Linked DNA regions of Homo sapiens: region 2 is linked to region 1. The links are contacts of gene promoters, found by promoter capture Hi-C in blood cells and fetal thymus (Javierre and others, 2016). All regions are on one chromosome and are shown on one strand. The core of a region is centred on a gene start or on the middle of the fragment in contact, and the rest is flanking DNA. Distances in the headings are between cores, read along the strand shown.

The links. Contacts are between HindIII fragments. The CHiCAGO score rates a contact against its expected background, and 5 or more counts as called.
Region 2: a contact is called between a fragment that was not itself captured here and the fragment with the promoter of LINC01381 in region 1, in 1 of 17 cell types (naive CD8 T cells). The highest score is 5.5, in naive CD8 T cells.

The regions. Positions count from the first base shown.
Region 1 is chr2:25,202,427-25,205,986 of GRCh38, reverse strand. It overlaps LINC01381 (long intergenic non-protein coding RNA 1381), which reads right to left and starts at 1,674. Exons shown (of 2, transcript NR_132378.1): 1 at 1,438-1,674. RefSeq lists a silencer at 1,337-1,676. The HindIII fragment of the contact is 10,460 bases long and covers 1-3,560 here.
Region 2 is chr2:24,397,467-24,401,026 of GRCh38, reverse strand. No RefSeq gene overlaps it. Among named protein-coding and RNA genes, the nearest start is that of ITSN2, 39 kb to the right of the region's middle. RefSeq lists enhancers at 366-866, 1,273-1,567. The HindIII fragment of the contact is 6,016 bases long and covers 1-3,560 here.

The DNA.
Region 1 (3,560 bases), core at 425-2,924:
AATCCCAGCTACTTAGGAGGCTGAGGCAGGAGAATTGCTTGAACCCGGGAGGTGGGGGTTGCAGTGAGCCGAGAGCGCACCATTGCACTCCAGCCTGGGCAACAAGAGTGAAACTCTGTCTCAAAAGAAAAAAAGAAAAAGAAAAAAAAACCCAGCTCTAGTAAAATTGTAATTTACAATTGTGATAACACTGTATAGAACAAAACACACAAGTATAAGTAACATTTGGGAAATCTGCATTAGATCAGCAGGTTACATCCCTGTCAATATGCTGGTTGTGATATTGTACTATAGTTCTGCAAGATGTTACCATTGGGGAAAACTGGGTAGAGGTGGGATCTCTGTATCATTTCTTTTTTTTTTTTTTTTTCTTGAGACGGAGTCTCACTCTGTCACCAGGCTGGAGTGCCGCGGCCCGATCTTGGCTCACTGTAACTTCTGCCTCCCGGGTTCAAGCGATTCTCCTGCCTCAGCCTCTCGAGTAGCTGGGACTACAGGCACATGCCACATGCCCGGCTAATTGTTGTATTTTTAGTAAAGACGGAGTTTCACCATGTTGGCCAGGATGGTCTCAATCTCTTGACCTCATGATCTGCCCGCCTCGGCCTCTCAAAGTGTTGGGATTACAGGCGTGAGCCACCGCGCCCGGCCTATATTTTCTTATAACTGCATGTGAATCTGCAAGTATCTATATAACATTTTCGATTAAAAGAAAAAGCAATTCTGAAGGAGTTGAGATCCATGAGAATTTACCATTTCATGTTAAACCATTTTTCATTAAGATTACATTATAAACATTTCCCCGTGTTTCTACAGACCTTGCAATAATCACTTACTGGCTACACGGCATTCCATCTAGTGGGTGTAAAACCGTTCCCTTAACCATTCTCCCTTGCTAGGTGGCGAGGTTGTTTTCAATTTTTAGCTCACACTAATAATGCCATAATGAACATGATTATGCCTAGGGCACGGTTATTCCTTTGAATTATTTCATTAGGATACATTCCCAGGGAGTGGGGTGCCTGGGCATAAGGTTCTGGACCTTTATGACTGTATTAGGTATTATTAATTTAATATTATATCCTTATTATTGCCCTTTCTAAGGTACAGATCGGCTTTTCCCCAAGTGAGCAAAAGTTCTCTGGCGCGCCTTTCAGCATTCAGATTTGTGGGGGAAAACCTAGGGGCCCCCCACTTGTTTCCGCCTGCACAGTGTCAGGCCAGAGATTTGAGTGGCAGAATGACAGAGGCAGCAGAGTGCAGCTAGAGGAGCTGTCACGGGCGTCACCCTCCCACGGGGCCCGGGCGGGCGTCCGGGGACCTCCTGGGACTCGGTGGCGCCGGCTACCTTCTCCCCAGAGCAGCAGAGGCCGTGAGGGGCCCTGCGGGGCCATGAGGGCGCGCGGCTTTCTTGAAAACAGAGCAGCCTCTGCTCACCCTGCAGGCGCTCTGGAGCTGCAGGAGGCCATTTCTAGAAGGCACCGGATTCGGCCTAATGCGGTGGCGAGGCCGCTGCGTCCCTCGGAGCCCGGTGGGGAGGCCCTGGGTGCCGCGCCCCAAGGCTCGCGGGCGATTGCCGCCCGTGAGGCGCCGCCGGGGAAGTCCGGAGCCCTGGCGTCCCCAAAGCCGTCCGCGGCTCTGCGTCCCAGTCCCGGGCGAGCGCCGCGCAGAGGCCCGAGGACCCCACGCCTGGGTGGGGAAGGCGCGGCCTCGCCATCTTGCTGGGCCACGGGCGCTCGGCGCAGGCGTGCGCGCTTGTGCAGTGTTCACCTCTTTTGGGATTTTATTCTCGTTTCATTTAATTTAACTCATTTAAAAAATTTTTTTTATTTTACTTTTTCTTTCATTTTAGTTTTGTTTTAAATTTTATTAATTTCATTAAATTTAAATTTTGTTAATTTAATTTTAATTTTAGGTGGTTTTTTTTTTCAGTTTGGATTGCCAGGTTAAATGTAGGAGGTCCAGTTAAATTCAAATTTCAGATAAGCAACAGATACATTTTTAGTATACATCTATCCTGTTTAGGATGTCCTATTTAGTATCAGAATGTCTCCAACGTTTTGTCCTGGTTTTTTGTTTGTTTGTTTGTTTGTTTTTTGCGACAAGGACTTGCTTTGTTGCCCAGGCTGGGGTGCAGTGGCACAATCATAGTTCACTGCAGCCTCCAACTCCTGGACTCAAGAGATCTTCCTGCCTCAGCCTCCAGAATAGATGTACACCACTACACTCAGCTAATGTTTGTATTTTTTGTAGAGCTGGGGGGCGTCTCGCTATTTTGCCCAAGCTGGTCTCGAACTCCTGGGCTCAAGTGATTCTCCTGCCTTGGTCTCCCAAAGTGCTGGGATTCCAGGCATGAGCCACCACTCCTGGCCTGGCCTGTATTTTTATTTGCTAAATCTGGCAACTCAATTTGTGGTAGAACCCCTTCTTTGGAGGACATCTGACTCAGAACCCTAATACCTACCCAATGACAGCGAGTGGTCTGTGTGAACTGGGGCCAGGACTAGGGGGTGCAGGAATGTGAGTGTCACCCAGTGTCTCCCAGACTGGCCTGAGGAACCCCCTGAGCAGAACCGAACCACTGAACCTCTCTTACAGGGGCTGAACTCCCCGAGGGCAAGACAGCAACAGCCGCACCAGGTAGACTCTGTACATTGGATTATTCCAGCCATGGCTGGCTCCTGTCCTCTCAAAAGTCCCTCACGGGCCGGGCACAGTGGCTCACGCCTGTACTTCCAGCACTTTGAGAGGCCTCACTTGAGGCCAGGAGTTCAAGACCAGCCTGCCCAACATGGCAAAACCCTGGCTAATACAAAAAATTAGCCAGGCATGGTGGCACACACCTGTAATCCCACCTACTTGGAGAGGCTGAGGCACAAGAATAGCTTGAACCTGGGAGGTGGAGGTTGCAGTGAACCAAGATCGTGCCACTGCACTCCAGCCTGGGCAACAGAGCGAGACTCTGTCTCAAAAAAAAAAAAAAAAAAAAAAAAATCCCTCAGGCCCATATCCTGTGAGCAACAAGCTCTGAAGGAGGGGCCCAGGTCTGCCACTATGGGATGTGGGCAAGTCACTGGCCTCAGTTTCTCCATCTGTGAAATGGGGCTGTTGTTTGGGCTGCTGGAGATAATCTATGTGAAAGTGCCTGGTGAACCTGGACACCCAGAGACTCTAAAGCATGCTTTTTACTGAGGCATAATTCACAAACAGTGACATTCCCCAATTTTAAGTATTGAACTCAGTGCATTTTGACTGATGTTTACAGTTGTGTGACCACCACAATTGCATATATATACATATACAAACATATATGTTGAAGAGTTGAAGGCCATAGCCCTTCTTTGAGGAATTCCGGGTCTGGTGGAGAAGCAGACCACGTGTACTTGACCACCACACACCTGTGTGAGCAGCAGCTCAGGAAGGAACACGGGGGCCAGCGAGGTATGCGGCCACTCTTCCGGCTGTAACGCCCTAGATAGAGCATTTAGTCTGGCCGCCTCTAACGCAGCCACATCAAGCCTTCAGTCCCACCCTTGCTGGGTCTGGAATACCCGGGCAAA
Region 2 (3,560 bases), core at 266-2,765, 800 kb after region 1:
TGTACAGACAGGGTTTCGCTGTGTCACCTGGGCTAGTCTCAAACTCTTGGACTCAAGCGATCTGCCCGCCTCGGCCTCCCAAAGTGCTGGGATTACCGGCATGAGCCACTGCACCTGGCCAACTCTTTGAGATTTTTTTTTTTTCCAGGTGTGGGAATGTTTTTGTTATTCATGACAAGCACCTTGGACCACACCTGATAGTTATCAGTAACAAGGCCGTTACAAGATAGTTTATGTTAACAAGATGATTCAAGGTGGGGCTGGCCACGAGAGAAGACCAAGTGATTAGAAGACTGGGGCTTTCTCGTCTGGGAAGTGAGGAGCGTCTCTCCTCGGCCGCCACCCCGTCTGGGAAGTGAGGAGCGCCTCTGCCCGGCCACTGTGCAACCTTCCAAGTGCGAAGTGACAGCCTTGCGTGTGATCTTTTCTGTCTTCCCCAAGTTTGCATTTTCGACATTCAAGTTTACTTTTTAGTTAAAAGTTAAAAAAAAAAAAGACTGGGGTTTTGGGCCACGTCACTTCACCCTGACTTCCAGGCAGGGGAGGGAGACTGGCAGTTGGGTTCAGCCACGTGGACAATAATTCAATCAATTGTGCCTATTGTACGAAGCCCTAATAAAAATTCTGGACATAAGAGCTGGGTGAGTTTCCTTCTCAGTATCGTCCCCTTTGTTGATGGGAGGGGAACACAGCATGGGGATGACAGCAGCTCTGCATTTGGATTCCTGCCAGACTTCCACATACGCATTCTCTTCCTCTGGCTGGTTCTAATTTGTATCCTTTACCTGTAATAAATGTGACAGTGAGTATAATCGCTCTCTGAGTTCTGTGAGTCTTTCTAGTGAATTACCGAACCTGAGGGTGGTCATGGGCACCTCTGAATTTGTAGCCCGTTGGTCTGTACTGAGGGTGGCCTTGGGGCCCTTCAAACTTGCAGCTGGTGTTTGAAGAGCAGTCTTTGAAGGACTGTGCCCTCTGACTGTGCAGTTTGCTGAACTCCTCTGCAAGCACTATAAGAGATTTTTAGGATGAGGGAATAGACACAAAGAGGTTAGATAATTTGCCTGAAGTCATACAGCTGGTGAGTGGAAAAGCCAGGATTCGGACACAGGCATTGCAACCATCATATGATATTGAATCAGCTACAGTGTCTGGGATAAATACCCAGGGTTCATCATCTCACACCAAGAGAAGTTAGGACACAAACGCACATGAGGAATTTAGGAGTGGAGGTTTAAAAGGCAAAAGAAAGAAAGAGAAAGGAAAACAGCTCACTCTCTAGTGAGAGAGAGAGGACTTTGGAGAGGAAAAGGCTGGCAGTGGATGTGCCAGATTTTATAGTCAGGCTTGAGGATGCGGTGTCTGATTTACATAGCACTCGCAGATTGGCTTGATCAGGTATGATGTTTACATAGGGCAAGGAGAAGGCTGGCAGACCCACTCTAATCATACTATGCAAATGAACTTTCCCCTTGGCCAGCGCCATCTTGTCTGCTTCTTCCTGTGCATGTGGCTGTCAGAGAAGGGAAGATGGAGCCGCCATTTTTAACATGCTTGGCATAACTGCCAGCGTCTACGTGTGCAGCTCAATTTTACAGGCTGCTGTTAGAAAGGAAAATTATTTGGGGCTGCTTTTCATTAAAAGGAAAACCTTACCAAGGAGTTCTGTGCCCTCACTATCTGCCTAAGTAATTTCTTCTTAACTCCTGTATCAATATTACTGCTTGATCAACTTTGCAGTAGGGAAAAATACCTAACTTAGCTATTCCACAGTGTGTACATATATCAAAACATCATGGTGTACATTTTATATATATATATAAAATATATATACACAATTTTTACTTGCCAATTAAAAATGTTTTAAAAGAATACCTAATAGCACCTTAGGCTTGTTTAGAACTGTTTTTCAAACATACTGTGGCTCACAGTATGAAATCCTGTATTTTCCATGACCACTCATTAAACATAACCTCTCCCATACACACACTCCAGAAATAAAAATATGATGCACCCTGATATTTTCTTTTTTCTTTTTTTTTTTTTTTGTTGTTTTAAGATGGAGTCTCGCTCTGTCGCTAGGCTGGAGTGCAGTGGCACAATCTCAGCTCACTGCAACCTCCACCTCCTTGGTTCAAGCAATTCTCCTGCCTCAGCCTCCCGAGTAGCTGGGACTACAGGCATGTGCCACCACGCCCAGCTAATTTTTGTATTTTTAGTAGAGATGGGGTTTCACCATGTTGGCCAGGATGGTCTCGATCTCTCGACCTCGTGATCTGCCTGCCGCGGCCTCACAAAGTTCTGGGATTACAGGCGTGAGCCACGGTGCCAGGACCACTCTGATATTTTCTATTCCCAATTACTTGTATTTTCAAAATGCTAGAAACCTACCAAATTTATTTCCTATTCACTTAAGAATTTTGCACCAACAATGTGGTGTAGACAGTAAACCACATTTAGAAATGCTGGCTTAGAAATTTGCTTTAAAATGGTACTTTCCAATTATGCCTTTAAGTAAGAATAATCTGGGGAATTTTTCAAGAAAAATCCAAAACCCAGGTCCCACCAACAGAGATTTTGACTCATTTAATCTGGGATGGGGGTTGGACATCAATATTTTATGTTATTTAAGTCTCTGAGCGATTCTAATGTACAGCCAGGAGCTAAGAGCCACTATTTTAAAATATTATCTGCTTCAAAATCTTAAGCAAATGTTTTAAAGAATAAAGACATTCTTTTATTTAAAAGTGAAAGCACATGATGAAAATACGTGGCTAAAACTAGTGACCTAAATCCTTTGCAGCTCACTTTCGTTGGCTGTGATATCTGGGGTAGCATTTTGTCTAAACTGCAAGGGCAATTTTTTGAGTAGTCAGAAATAAACGTGATAACTAACTTTGTAAGTTTAAAGACATAACATTTTGGTGACCTTTCTTTTCACTTAAAAGTAATTTTATTATTAAGAAGATAAATATTATATATATAAAATATATATAATATATACTCCAGAAAATGAGATTAAAAAAGCATAGATACCTGTGTGTCTATCACTCAATTAAGAAAATAAGGTTATAATCTGACATTCATATGACTAAAAAAAAGAAAGAAAATAAGGACTATTATCATCATCTGTGTGGCCTTCTCTGTTTGCATTTCCTTTGTTTATTAGAAATAAACCCAAGGCCAGGCACGATGGCTCACGCCTATAATCCCAACACTTTGGGATGCCAAGGCATGCGGATTGTCTGAGCTCAGGAATTCAAGGCCAGCCTGGACAACATGATGAAAACCTGTCTCTACAAAAAATACAAAAATTAGCTAGGCATGGTGGCGCACACCTATAGTCCCAGCTACTCATGAAGCTGAGAGGTGGGAAGATCACTTGAGCCTGGGAGGTGGAGGTTGTAGTGAGTTGAGATCCTGCCACTGCACTCCAGCCCGGGTGACAGAACCAGACCCTGTCCCAGGAAAAAAGAAAAAAAAAAGAAAGAAAAAGAAATAAATCCTATCCTAAATATTGTGTTATCTTGCAATTCTTAGAGGTTTAACAAGTTTGTATA